Linked DNA regions of Homo sapiens: region 2 is linked to region 1. The links are contacts of gene promoters, found by promoter capture Hi-C in blood cells and fetal thymus (Javierre and others, 2016). All regions are on one chromosome and are shown on one strand. Each heading gives the region's core, a stretch centred on a gene start or on the middle of the fragment in contact. The rest is flanking DNA. Distances are from core to core; before and after follow the strand shown.

Region 1 (7,061 bases), core at 2,184-4,683:
CTCGTCCCCTTCATTGCCCCCAGAACTGCCCAGAAAGCTCTGTTCAAGTTTTCGATAATCCTTCTACAGGTGCCACGAGAATACTAGAACCTAAAACAGGTGACAAGTCCTCAATTTCTGATTCGTTTTCCCCAAACACTAAAAGGTTTTATTTAGCATTTCTAATACTGAGTTTACTACAAATAGCCCAAGCAACATTTAAGTCTCTCAACTGCCTGGCTCAAAGAGCCAATTCACTCAAAGAACACACTAGTCACTGTTGTAGGGTTCAAGAGAAGAAAAAAGCATATTCTGTTTCAGCCCAGTGTGACATGGCTCAAGAGGGCCAAATCAAGGAGTCTTGATTGGGCCTCTCAAGTGGACGGTCTGGTCAAGGTGAGGCTGAAAAGCAGCACACCATTAGAGATGAATGCCCTCAGCAGAAGGCAAAAGTAGGTTACATCCCTTGGTTACGTGCCAGCCCAAAGATGCCGACACAGTGGAATTGAGCCCCACAATGGTCATTTATCTAATGTAATCCACTGAGTGAACTTTTAGTACCAACCTACACCTCAGCTGAGTGTTATTAGTCATCAGAAGGATCAGACAAGAGTGGAACTATTGCAACATAAACTGCCTCCCTACAAAAGACAACTTGAAACTTAGATCCTGATGGTCATCTTGGTAGATGGATAAGGGCATATTATTAACACTTGCCCAGTCCTTAAATTCATACAGAGCTGGAAACAAAGGAGGATTCGTATACTAGAACACATTCAGAGAACTTATTATGCAGTTTTAAACAGCAGTATATAAGACAAAATAAAGAAAGAGGTGTGTCCTCAATTGAACATCCTGCTGAAAATCTGAACACCCAGCTTGAAATTTATCTGCCAGAAAAGACCCAGGTGACCACTGCCTCTTCCTCTCCCACTCAGCAGAGTGACTTTATTATGATAGTCCAACAGTACCTGCAAAAACAGTAAGTGATAAGACCCTAGTTAAGGCGACAGAATTAATCAACAAGCAGCATCATTTTCTACTTCCTACTCCTTCTGGCAATTTGTTTGCCTACCTATTCTGAGCCCCATATCCACCTCTCTGACCTTATCTCCAACTCTCCCCCGTGTTCACTAAGCTCTGGCTATTACTCACCCAACCCATCCTCTTTCCACTACCTCCCACCTACCCTGACCCTTTCTTCCCATTCCCTGGAACTTGACAAGCGCATTCCAGCCAGTTTCTGCACCAGCTGTTCCCTGAACCTGGAAGGATCTTCCCCTTTTCTTTGGATGGCTGGCTCCTTCTTTATACTTAAAGCTCAACTTAAGTGTCACTTCCTCAGAAAGATCCTCTTTGACTGCATCTACAGTTAAGACACTTTCAATCACATCACTCTTATTTTCTTCAGCGCTTGATCAAAATCTGGTTTACTGGGATATATATTATGTCTCTCTCTGTCCCCAGCTCCCACTCCGATGTAAGCTCCATGAAAGGGTGAACCTTTTGCTTGTGTTCACCTGTGTACACCCAGTGCCTGAAACACTGGCTAGCACTTAGGAGTCAATAAATGTTTGTTGAATTAATGAACTGTGAACTTTTTAGTCAATGGCAAACTAGGTTCTAAATCAGTTAAAGTGAGAACAGTAGTCATTCTTCTGTTGTATTTTTGTGAAACATCTAAACACGCTGTTACTGGTATAATCAAGCATTAAATATTCTGTTTTTTAGGGCCCGAAAGCCCTGAATAGGACTTCCTAGCATCAGATCTTCCTAGCACTATGCATATCAAGCTCAGTTACAGAAGGACAGGACTTACGGGCACTTTCTAATCAAAGGACTCCGAAAATGTAGGCACTATCTCTTAAAGTTCTTCAGAAAACAGTTTCAGATTCTACAAAAGATTTCCGAAGAATGTATCAACACCAAAAGGAAAATCATAACACTTCACTCTGATATCTGTCTGAGAGGCTAGAAGAGTGCTCCTTGATTTTTTTTAAACCAACAGCATATCAACAAAGAGGCCTTCTTTCCATTCTTTGCTTCAAATAATTTTTTCACATCCGTTATTGGTTTGTATTCGCCCTTAAACCAAAACTAAACAGATCACACTGTCTCATTTAGGACCCCCATACACAAAGAATCAGCTACGTAAAGATGAAAATCAGCACAAGCTGAACGTGTCACTGATGATTTGTGTGTCACACATAAATGGAGAAAAACATAAAAGAGCTATTGTCCAATTGTAGAAACAAAAAAGTAATATGGGGTTTTCTGTTCTCTGAAGTGCATCATGAAAAGTGGGTGGAGAGAAACACAGAAATCCAGAATTAGCCTAGCAAATCATTTTGGGAAGAGCTGACAACATGTAAATTCCTCACACATAAAGTATTTCGAGCAAGAGACCTTGATTCCTGGGCTATGATGCCATTCAGGATTCCTTGCAAAGGCTCTGGAATTCCAGTATTCATAAAAGAAAATGCTCATTATAATCGGAGCGTAAGAGGTACTCCCAACGTGACAGCCTGTATGAAGTATTACAAAGCTTACAGTTAAGATCTGGGATAGAGGCTGAACACCAAATTCAAAAGAGGTAACCAAGGCACTAAGTGCCATAAAGGAGGAAAGGGGAAGAAAAAAAAATCCACTATTGCCACTCAGCCACAGAGAATTAAAGTGGAAACCAGGGGTGTGCATGGGGGAGGATGAGGGGTGAGAAGTGCGGGGGGTGTGGTGGAGGAACAAACAATACATTTGTCACCCCGTCCCACTTCCTATAGAGGATACAGGCAAAGCCTCCAGCCTCATTACCTCGGACACAGATGGTTATCGTTTATAGCAAAGGTGCACAAAAAGGCCTTCAGGTCTGAGCCCCTTAATTCCAGGGCTGTTAATGATTAAAGAGAACGATGGGGGTGGGGAGGGAAATGAGGGCGGAGGGAGCTGGGAGATTCACCCACCACCTCCCCCTAGGGCTCCTACCTCACAGCGCTCACCCAGGACAGAGGACCAGAGTCTGCACCCCCTCCAGGGCAGCTCCAACCCCATATCCCCAGGCCCTGGGTTGAGGGGTGCTGGCGGTGGGGAGGCAGGGACAGTAGGTAAGTTTTCTGAGCCCTGCGGCTGACACGCCACAGGCTCCCCTCACAGCCTCTTCTTTCAGAGGTACCACTCCAGACAACGCGCTGACTTCCACTCCTCCCTTTCCACCCCCCTTTCTCGAAGGTACCCAACCCCCGCCCCTTCATCTCTCAATGCCCCCCCGCCTTTTCCTCAACTCCCCCCCTCCCCAAAACTCACAGCTGCTCCAGAGGTTCCTCCAGTCAAACCCTTTCTGGAAACGACGGCGGCCCGGCGGGTCCAAACCACCTACCATCCCCGCTCGCGTTTCCAGGCTCCCTACCCCCGCCGCCGCCGCCTCTTCTTCCACCACTGCCACCGCCTCCTCTTCATCTGCGGCCCACCGGCGGCGGCCGCCCCGAAGCCCCGCCCCCTCCATCGCCTCCTGCATCATCACTTCCGGTAACCCCGCCGGCCGCCAGCTCCAGGAGGGAGAATGGGAGAGGGGCAAGGAGGGAACGAGTGGAAGATTGCGTCACGACGCACATAAAGACGTACGAAGCCGTCGCCAAGTAAGGGCAAAGACCTAGCAACCCGGAGGGAGCTGGGCTGGACCATTTTTTTTTCTTGTTTTACGGGAATGGAGCGGGGAGGATAATGAAAGCGTAAAGGAAAAATAGGGGGAGGAGGAGCTCAGCTTATTGTTGGATGCGGCGGGAGATGGGTAGAGTCAGTCAGTCGAGACTCCCCCAGACCTGGAACTGGTGCTCCCACAGAGGTGGGCCCGGTGGTTTGGTCCGGCCTGGCCTACTGGACCAGCCTGTGCTCGGTCGGCCACGGCTCTGCTGGGCTCCTGGCGCCGCCTCCTCCCAGCCCGCCGCGGGCTGCGCGCTTCTGTGGGTGGGGGAAGGCAGGACTGACGCAGAGTGAGTGTAGGGGATGGAGGCGCCGACTCCAGGCGCGGGAGACTGGCGGGGAAGGGGTTGGCTCCCCACGGGCAGGGATGGTTTGGAGGTTGGGCTGCGGCGTTGCCGGGAGACGGGCCTGTGTGACCCCAGCTTCGCGGGGGCGGCTCGGTGTCATCGCCACCGGCCTCGGGGACCTGCCTCACGGAAGTGGCTCGCGCGTCCAAGAGGGGAGGCCTGGTGTGGGGACGCTCAGGTGCCGGCGTGGGGCCCCCTCGGAGGCTGTGAATCTTTTGGACCCCCGAATGTAAATGGGAGATGGTAGGGGCCGGTCCGGGGGCGAGAGGTGTCTGGCTGGGGAACGTTGACCCACACCAGGTCCCGTACAGGAACGGAGACTCCCTAGGACCGTGAGAGCCAGCTTCGTAATTCTCTTGCTCTTCAAACCTGAGAGTAGGGTGTTGCTCCGTTACCTTCCATTCGTGTGCAGGAGAGAGTTAAGTAAATCAATAAAGAAGGTATCAGCAAGTGAGAAATGCCCCCCAAAGACCGGATGAGGTGACAGAAGATGGGGGGAGGGCCCCTCGAAATCGGGTAAGGTCGTTCAAAGGAGGCCACGGTTTTGCGGGGATCCGAGACAATGGGTTTTCTGGGTGGAGAGAAGAGCCAATGAGAAGGACTTTTAGGTTGGAAACAGCCAGAAGGCCATGTGGCTGAAGCAAACAGAGCCAGGGCCGGAGTGCCCTGTGATGTAGTTGGGGAAGTGGCATGACTGTAGCAGCGCCTTTTAGCCCAAGGCAGGGGTTTGGCTAATGTGTACCTTAAGGGTTTTAAGAAGGGAAGTGACCTGACCTGATTTACATTTTTAAAAATCCGCTCTGCCTGCTGGATAGAGAAGGGTGGAAGTAGTTAGACCTGTTAGGAGACTGTTGCACTGTAAGACAAAGGAGAGGTGAAGATAGTGTTGAAAGGGCCGGCCGGGCGCGGTGGCTCACGCCTATAAACCCAGTACTTTGGGAGGCCTAGGCGGGCGGATCACGAGGTCAGGAGATCGAGATCATCCTGGCCAACATGGTGAAACCCCATCTCTACTAAAAATACAAAAATCAGCTGGGCGTAGTGGCACGCGCCTGTAATCTCTGCTACTCAGGAGAATCGCTTGAACCCGGGAGGTGGAGGTTGCAGTGAGCCAAGATCGCGCCACTTCACTCCAGCCTGGGCAACGGAGTGAGACTCCGTCTTAAGAAAAAAGAAAAGGCCCTCAGTCACAGTGGAAATGGAGAGAATTCCATTCAGCATATATTTGGGAGGTAGTGCTTGCAGGACTTGCTGGGGAATTGGATGTGAAGTGTGTAGGAGAGGGAGGAACCAAGGTTAACTCCCTACGGGAAAACAGTTTAGAAAGGAATATCGAAAGTTCTCTTTTGAACATATTAAGTTTGATAAGTCTATTAACAAGTCAAATGAAGTTGTCAAGAAGTTAGATATACAAGTCGGGGAAAAATCATAGTTGGAGATAATAAATAAGGAAGGCAGGGAGGAGCTCCCAGATCACCTAAGAAGAGCGTGTAAATAAAAGAGGAAGACCCCTAAATCCCTTGGGTTCTTACCATTTAGAGAGTACCCAGAGAAGGAGAAGCCAGCAAAGGAGACGACACAGACAAGACCTCAGAGATCAAAGGAAGAGGCCCCTTAATATCCTGGAATAATGGGACCCATCCCCGTAATCAGTGAATCTCATCCACCCGCTTGCCAGCTTCTACCCGCAGCAAGTAGAAGCTAAGTCCTGGCTCAAATCTCTTCCCTCCCTCCCTCTCCCAGCTGTCAGTGCTTTTGGACTTGTGCTCAGGTAATTTGTGTCCGTTATAGAAAACCTGACTTTTTGGATAAATTGTCTGTTTATATGGCTGTCTCCCCCAGGTACTGTTTCTTATTTGTGTCTTCCTGGCTCCTGGTACAGAGCCTTGTCCATATGGTGGTTGTAGCTGGGCAGGAACACTGTGTTCATAAGGTATCAGCCATACAATCCAACAGCTTCTCACAAAAAGGGGCTTTTGTCCCTGCCACTGCTGCCAAGCCCACCACAATTACGATCAGTTCCACAATATAGTGTAAAGGGTATCAGAAGATGAATAAGAAGGCCTGGGTTTCAATCCTGGATCTGCCACTGACCAGCAGAGTGGCCATGGATAAAGCTCTTCTCTCTGAGCTGAAGGGTTGGCCTAGATTTGAAGTTGCATACTGACAAGACAGATATTGCCTGCAAACATATTGTTCAGCCCACACAGTGATTTAAATTCTTTTTTAAATTTACTTGCCAACATTTAAAAATTGGACATCAAAATCCAGACTTTGGGCTTCATTTGAAAAATCCGACAATCTGACAACACCAGCCTGAAGTTCCTAGAGGTTCCTACACAGCAACTGTCAGCCAGAGCTGAAGAGCTGTCTCCCGTCTATGTGGCTCATGCTCAGGGTTTGCCAAAAAGGCCTCTCCTCTCCTGCTACCTGGCTGACCCCTGTGGGCATTTGATTTGCAATTCTTGGTCTAGGGCTGTGCTATCCCTGTGTAGCCACTGACCACATGTGACTATTTAAATAAAAATTCAGTTCCTCCAACACAGTATGTTTCAAGTGCCAGTAGCTACCTGTGACAGGTGTGTGTCCTATTGGACAGAGCAGATAGAACCTTTCCTTCACAGAAAGTTATCTTGGTCAGCATTGGACTGGAGGAACTCGAGGGTACTATGTAGGCTAGTCATTCTCCGCATGTGAAACTCAAGGGACTTAGCCTACTGAGGAGCTCTGGTGCCTCTGCAGATGGGAAAGTTGCGCATTCAGTAGTTATTTGATGGTGGAGGAAGCTGTCCTGAAGGCCTGGACCCCTGCACAGAATGTGGTTATTTATCAGAGAGTTGGATCAAGGGTCAGGTGCTAGAAAGCCCCAACTGTATCTAGTGTGGCATGCAAAGCTCTTTGGTCAGTTTCCTAATCCAGTTCCTCAGAAAACTATAACAAAGCAAGAACTTAAGTCAGTGTCTTGTGTTCTCAGACTTTTCGATTTGATATGAAGGGTGAAAGATCCTGGCTGGGGAGTTATGAATGAATGAATGAATG
Region 2 (7,061 bases), core at 2,239-4,738, 400 kb after region 1:
TTCTCCCAAGAGATACGTAAAATAATATTCAAATAAGTTATATTCACAAAAGTCAAACACTAAAAACAACCCGCATGTCTCTATTAGTAAACAAATGGGAAATATACAACATTCATATACCAGATTACTGTGCAGAAAGGAAAATGATGAATTATAATTACATGCAACATGAGTGAAGTTTCCAAACATAATATTGAGTGAAGCAGAAAGAAAGGAATGAATACTGGATGATTCCATTCATATAAAGTTCAGAAGTAGAAAAATTGAAATCACAATTTTAGGGGTGCATGTGTAGATAAAATGATAAAAAGGGAACTGTTAGGGAATTGCTCAAATAACAATAAAAGCAATGGATACTTTTTATAGAGGACAGAAGCTGGGAAATAGCCCATGGGAATGTATGGGTTATTATTACTTGACCTGGATAGGGTGGTTTTGTGTGTATTTGCTTTAAATAATTCATTAAGCTCGATGTTTGAAATATCTCATATTTATTTGTGTGATCATGAAGGCAATACATGCTTTAAGACTAACATTAAGAAAAATCCCACACTGTTACAAACATGTGTTTTTTCAAACATTTTTAATCCCAGTTAATTTCATTTGCTATAATCTACAAATATGCAATAAAAGTGTAAATACAAATGTTTATTCTAAATTAGGAATAGACACCACCCTCTTTCCTCCTACTCCACCAGTGGATCATTACTCACCTGTATAAGAAACTAGAACAAGTGGCCTGACTTTGGTGATTTATATGTGATTTCCTGTTTCACACGTGAGGCTATTCTTACTATGATTATTCTTATTATGATTAATCCTTATTGTTATTAATCTTGTTCTTATTGTGATTATTCCTGTTGTCCTCCCCACCAAACACACTGTACCTGCCCACACACTGCCGGGAGGAAAACATCCTGGTTCAGATTCTCAGCACTGCGTTTAGGAATAAAGTCTCGTAGCAACATTAGGCTTTTAGTTTTTTTTTTTAATTTTTTTTTTACTTTTTGAAACAGAGTCTCACTCTGTCACCCAGGTTGGAGTTGAGTGGCGTGATCTCAGCTCACTGCAACCTCTGCTTCTTGGGTTGAAGCGATTCTCCTGTCTCAGCCTCCCGAGTAGCTTGCATTACAGGAGTGCACCACCACTGCTCGGCTAATTTTTCTATTTTTAGTAGAGACAGGGTTTCGCCATGTTGGCCAGGCTGGTCCCAAACTCCTGACCTCAGGTGATCCGCTCGCCTTGGCCTCCCGAAGTGCTGGGATTACAGGCGTGAGCCACTGCACCTGACCACATTAGACTTTTAGAAGGCTCAGGTGTTTTACATTGGGCAGGTGAACTGGCTAATATTTGTACCCTCAATCATTGCTATGAACTCCACATAATAAGACTAGTTCATGAGGAATAAATCTGCCGAAACCATTAACTATATCATGGATACCAAAGAGATTGGGTTAGCAGGTCATATTGCCTTTTGTATTAACCTCCTCTATCCACCCCTTCAAGTATATAGTTAAGTAAATGTAGCAATATTTTGGTGATTTCAAATTAAGTGTGTAAGATTATTCACCGGTCCTATTATCCTTTCTTGAGTAGTGTCTTAAAACACAAGAACCAAGGGATCCTTAACTGCTACATTCCCAGCAAGGACTGGGGAAAGGTGATGGTAGAAATCTTGCCCTTGTAACATTGCATGTTAAGTAAGAGAGCACTAATGGTGGGGAGTATTTGGGATTCGGGCATTTGGAATGGGAGCCTGGCATTGTTGGGAGGAGCAGCAGCGTTAGGTTACTTTCCAAACACCCCTAGAGTTTAATTGCCTTGATTTCTTCCCCTAAATCCGACTATTAGTCCATGTCCATCAAGAGATGGCCTCCTCTCACTTTCTCAATTCTCTGTTCTTCCGCCTTCTCACCTCACCCTTCTGTGCCTTTTGTCCTCCAACATACACTTGATAGGAGTGGGGGAGTGGAGGAGAGGCTCATCTGAGTTGGGGGCTGAAGGGGAGATTGCAATGGTAACTGTGTTTTTATTGCTGTTGTTAAAGGTGTTTGGCATTTTGGAGCAAGCTAAAGAGCAATTTGATTTAGAAGACTATTCTGTCAGATCACACTGGAACAAGTCTTCCTGACCTTTGCTAACCCAGAGAAATCATCCAGTGATGATGAAAACGAGGTGCCATGAGATTCCCTCTTAAAAAAAAAAAAAAAACAGAAAAAGAAAAAAAAAAGAAATGCCCTACACGTGAGTCCCAATAAACTCATCTACTCATCAAGCTGGACTGGTCTGAGTCATTCTTTGGTCTGTTGGCTCCTTTCCCAGTTTGGGGCGGAGGATGTTCTATACAGTCCTGGATTTTTCCCCAACCAGGAAGAGAACTCCTTGTCCTGCAGTGTTCCTCTTGCGCCCTCTCCTGACAAAGCTTAACTTCGGAGCTGGAGCAAGTCGTATCCGGCATTGCAGGGAAGAGTGAATTTGGCCTGTGATCCAATCAGAAGCTGCGATTCTAAACAGGAAGCCACACTGGATGCGAGAATTGGGGTGGGGCGCGCCAAGAGGAGCAAGCATTATAGAACGTGGGGAGCATGAGAAATACACGGAGGTGGAAACGCCGGAGTGGCTGGCGGGTAAAGGCAGCGGGCGCAGATGAAGCGGGCTGGGCGTCCCACGCGCAGAACCGTCCCGGACAGAAGCCGCAGGGCTGCGCTGGCTGGAAAAAGGAACGCGAGTACAGCGCGCGTGGCGCGGGGTCTGCTCCAGGACGGAATCTTTTGGGTGGCCCGCATGAGGGGTTTGCAGGACCCCGGGCCTTTGGGAAGTTATCTGCTAAACTCCAGTAGACCCTGAGGAGCAGCGGCTCATGAATCTTCTTAAACTTCTGTCATCAGCGGCTGGGCCAGCTGAAGGTGACCATGGCACACGAGGGAGAGAGAAGCCCGCGAGAGGCGGAGAAATGTGGGGTCGTCCAGGAGGGTCGACAAGGCAAAGAACCTGAAGACGACCCAAAAGGGTACCTAGGTGGGGCCCTTTCAGGGACTTGGGGCATAGGGTAGGGCGCATGGGACGAGGTGGGTGAGCGCAAGGGACGAGATGGGTGTGCGCATGGGACGAGGTGGGTGGGAGCATGAGACGAGGTGGGTGGGGCGGTGGGTGAGGTCTCCGCCCCCAGACGGGCTGGCGAGGAAGCAGGGAAGAAGTAACGTTGGGCTGGTGAGGCAACAGGTGGGGCGCACTGGAGCTGCGGGATAATAGGTGGAACAAACTGGGGACTACACTCGTGGGCGCACGTGCGGAAGAGGGACTGAGGAGGTTCTTGCGTGCTCCCCTCGAGCACCGCCGACAGCTTCACCCGCACCTCCTGCCTTCCGCACCGCTGACTCCTACCGCTCCGCGCACTGCGCGCCCCCAGCCCTAGTGCAGCCAGCTCCCGGCCGGGTCCGCGCGAGGGCCAGGCTGCCAACCTGCCCGCGGGCGGCTGGTGGTTGGGGAGGGCGTTGGGAGGAGGAGTCCCGCCGGGTGGACGCGCGCCCTTCAGCGGCGGAGGCGGAGGCGGCAGCGGCGAGGCCTGAGGGTGCGTGCTAGGGAGTCCTGGCGCGTCCTTCTTCTGCCGGCGTCCCCCTGCGCTTGCAGCTGCTCCCCGACGCCCGGGAGGCCCACCCGCTAGCCGCGATGGGCGCGCAGAGCCCAAAAGGGCGACCCCCAAACAAAACTCACGCATATAAATCCTCCAGAGACTTCCTCATCCCCCCGCCAACACACACACACCCACACACACATACACACAATCAAATCAAATAGAAGCACTGTTAGGAATTTTATATTGGCTATGCAAAGTGCTTGAACGCACTGACTTTGGAGGCAAATGCCTTGTCCCTAGTCCTGACTAGTCCAGAATTTATTTGCTGTGACCTATGGCAAATTGCTTGGTTTCTCTAAGCCTCCATTTCCTAAGGCTTATATCTGAAAATAACTATAAGAGGAAAGGATGCTATTGTATCCAACTCAGAGGGCAGTCCTGATACTTACATTGCGAGAACATGTTAAGTGTTCCATAAATGGCAGAAGGGGCTGTGGAAGTTCAGTGATTATAGGTAGTTTAATTTGTCTTAGTTTTCCTTTGTGAAAGCATAAATTACACCAGAGAAAGTCACATATGTAAGGAATACTTTATGCAAAGCTGTTGTCCTAGGGAAGAGAGACCAGAACTCAGTCTAAACTAACTCTGCTGAAACAAAGTGGGGCAGGGTTTTTAAGCTCTAGGATGAGAGTAGAAAGGTGCTGGAGGGCTGTCGGAAGCATACTGAGTTGTTTGCTGAGTTTACAAGTGTTTCCTCCGTGATTAGGCCAGCTGTGTTTGCTAATTGGCTCTCAGGGAAGTTAGGCTCCTACCCTCCCACAGAAACTGGGAGATAGGGGGACCGTCTTCCTTGATGATTGCATTTCAAAGGAATGGCTCCCAGGTCCTTGACAAAGATGATTCTGGTTTGTAAAACTAGTAAGAGGCTATTAAAAAGAGTTACAGATATCTCAAGACAGAGAAAGAATTTACAGTGAAAAGCTTTCTAAAGAAAATGCTCTGTATTAATCTGTTTTCACACTGCTGATAAAGACATACCCAAGACTGGGCAATTTACAAAAGAAAGAGGTTTATTGGACTTACAGTTCCACGTGGCTGAGGAGGCCTCACAATCACGGCAGAAGGTGAAAGGTATATCTCACATAGTGGCAGACAAGAAAGCTTGTGCAGGGAAACTCCCCATTTGAAAACCATCAGTTCTTATGAGACTTACTCACTATCATGAGAAGAGCACGGGAACAACCCATCCCCATGATTCAGTCATCACTCACAGGGTCCCTCCCATAACACGTGGGAATTATGGGAGCTACAAGATGAGATTTGGGTGTGGACACAGAGTCAAACCATATCATGCTCTAAGAAAAGAAAGTTTTGGGCCTAGAGTCAGGAAAAAGCCTTTTCAAGTCAAGCTGAGAACTTTAAGGTGGTCTTGGCTACCTCATTTTATGCAAAGTAGGCAGAAAATTTAAAAGAAAAGAAACATATTTAAGTACAATTAAGAAAATTACAGTGTTTCAGTTAAAGCAGTTCAGTGCTTTTTAGAAAAGGAGCTGAAATTAAATAGTAAGTATAAATTTAATTCTAATAATTCAGGGCTATGAACCATGTAATTGCTTAATTTCCAATAACTATTTGTTCTTTTGCGACTACAGTTTGGCAGGTTGCCCTAATAATTTTCAGGCATTTTAGGTTCATGCTCCTTCCAACCCTCCTTTTCCCTTACAAGGGTTGCATCCAAGTTATGAGGGATAAGGGTGGGGGGTGTTTCATATTTAGGACCAGGATGTTGATGTGTACTTATTCCTGGCCAGGCTGTTTTGGAGTCAGGACTCTTGCGCTATAAGATCCCCCAAATCTATTTTGGGAATAGTGAAAGGGATGGGATGATGCTGAGGAGCCGGGCTTCGGCATTTCCTTATTGTGCATTATTTCCAATCCGTTGTTTTACCCTGGAAAGGGTCAACTGAAAGAACTGGCCATTGTCTTTGTAGGTATTAAGTATTGCTCTGTCTTCCCCGAGACCAAAAAATAAAAGATTGAATGAGGGATGGTACTGAATTGAAAACTTATGGTTAATATTCCAAAACATTACCCACTAAAAGAGCAAGAGAAAAAAGTTAGTGGGAGAGTGTTTCAGATGATTCCTTCTTCACAGGTTTACCTGTTCCCCCACCTGAAGAGTTAATTAGAAAAACAATACAGGTACATTACATAAAATTCAAACTCTATAGACATACAATTTGTAAAATGTGTAAGTCCCCCATTTTCCACCTCCTGAGGACATACTATCAACAGATCTTCTACCATTTTTCTTTTCTGTACATGTACTTCTTTTCTCTACATATATATTTTTCCAAACAATGTGTTTATATCATGTATAATATTTTGCAGTTTACTTTTTCTACCTTAGTAGTATATTATCCTCTCATGACAGTGTATCTATATCTATCCCTTCTTTGTAACAGAGGAACAGGATTTTATTGAAGGTATTGGCATGATTTATGTAATCATTCTTTCTGTTTTCATTTGATCTTACTGTTTTCCAGTGTTATCATGAACATCTTTCTGCCTGAATCTTTGTTTTGCTATGGTTTTGCTTTATGAACTTTGTTTCTAGGTTTGTTTGCTTTTTTTTTAAATAGCCTTTAAGACTTGGATCTGCTGCATAAATTCCTTTAAAGTTTGCAGACATGTATTGAGTGTATTGATCAGCTGCACTAAGGAGTAAGCACCTGATGTGAAGCCCCCTTCCATGAAAAATCCTTTAAGAATGGCATAGTTGTGAAGTTGGAAGGCTGTATGAATCACAAATTGATTTTACCCCATCACCACATCAGCCAAACACCTGCTCTGCCATTTTGATTAAGATTCGTCATGTATTTCATGCCAGTAATCCCAGCACTTTGGGAAGCCAAGGCAGTTGGATCACCTGAGGTCAGGAGTTTGAGACCAGCCTCAACAACATGGTTAAACCCCATCTCTACTAAAAACACAAAAAATTAGCCAGGCGTGATGGCACGCACCTGTAATCCCAGCTACTTGGGAGGCTGAGGCAGGACAATCGCTTGAACCCGGGAGGTGAAGGTTGCAGTGAGACGAGATCGCGCCATTGCACTCCAGCCTGGGCAACAAGAGCAAAACTCCATCTCAAAAAAAAAAAAAAATTAATCATGTATTAATTGAGATTTGCAGGGCCGTGTGCTTTATATAAAACAATGCACAATGCACTAAGCTCCATGGTGTTTGAGAGACAAAGGAGAACAAGATACCATCCCCACCACTGGGTAGTTTAAGATTATTGTCTGTATCCAGTATATAGCAATTGTAATGATTTCTAAAATGTTTTTCTATTGAGATACAGTTTACATGAAATGAAGTGCTCAGATTTTGAGTGACAGTTTGATCAGTTTCAAAGAATGTGCACACCTAATCAAGACACAGAACATTTCTGTAACACCAGAAAATTCCCTCTTGCCCTTTCCTA

Evidence for each region. Contacts are between HindIII fragments. The CHiCAGO score rates a contact against its expected background, and 5 or more counts as called.
Region 2: a fragment that was not itself captured here is called in contact with the fragment with the promoter of DCUN1D3 in region 1 in 7 of 17 cell types (M1 macrophages, M0 macrophages, monocytes and 4 more); the score reaches 10.9 in M1 macrophages.

What each region holds. Positions count from the first base shown.
Region 1 is chr16:20,896,925-20,903,985 of GRCh38, forward strand. DCUN1D3 (defective in cullin neddylation 1 domain containing 3) reads right to left here and starts at 3,434. Exons shown (of 3, transcript NM_173475.4): 1 at 3,280-3,434. It overlaps LYRM1 (LYR motif containing 1), which reads left to right and starts at 3,847. Exons shown (of 4, transcript NM_001128302.3): 1 at 3,847-3,965. RefSeq lists enhancers at 2,994-3,043, 3,253-4,038, 4,039-4,824. The HindIII fragment of the contact is 5,697 bases long and covers 2,523-7,061 here.
Region 2 is chr16:21,298,318-21,305,378 of GRCh38, forward strand. It overlaps a transcript of CRYM not described here and the pseudogene ABCA15P. Among named protein-coding and RNA genes, the nearest start is that of CRYM, 24 kb to the left of the region's middle. RefSeq lists a silencer at 3,369-3,628 and an enhancer at 4,071-4,659. The HindIII fragment of the contact is 2,136 bases long and covers 2,421-4,556 here.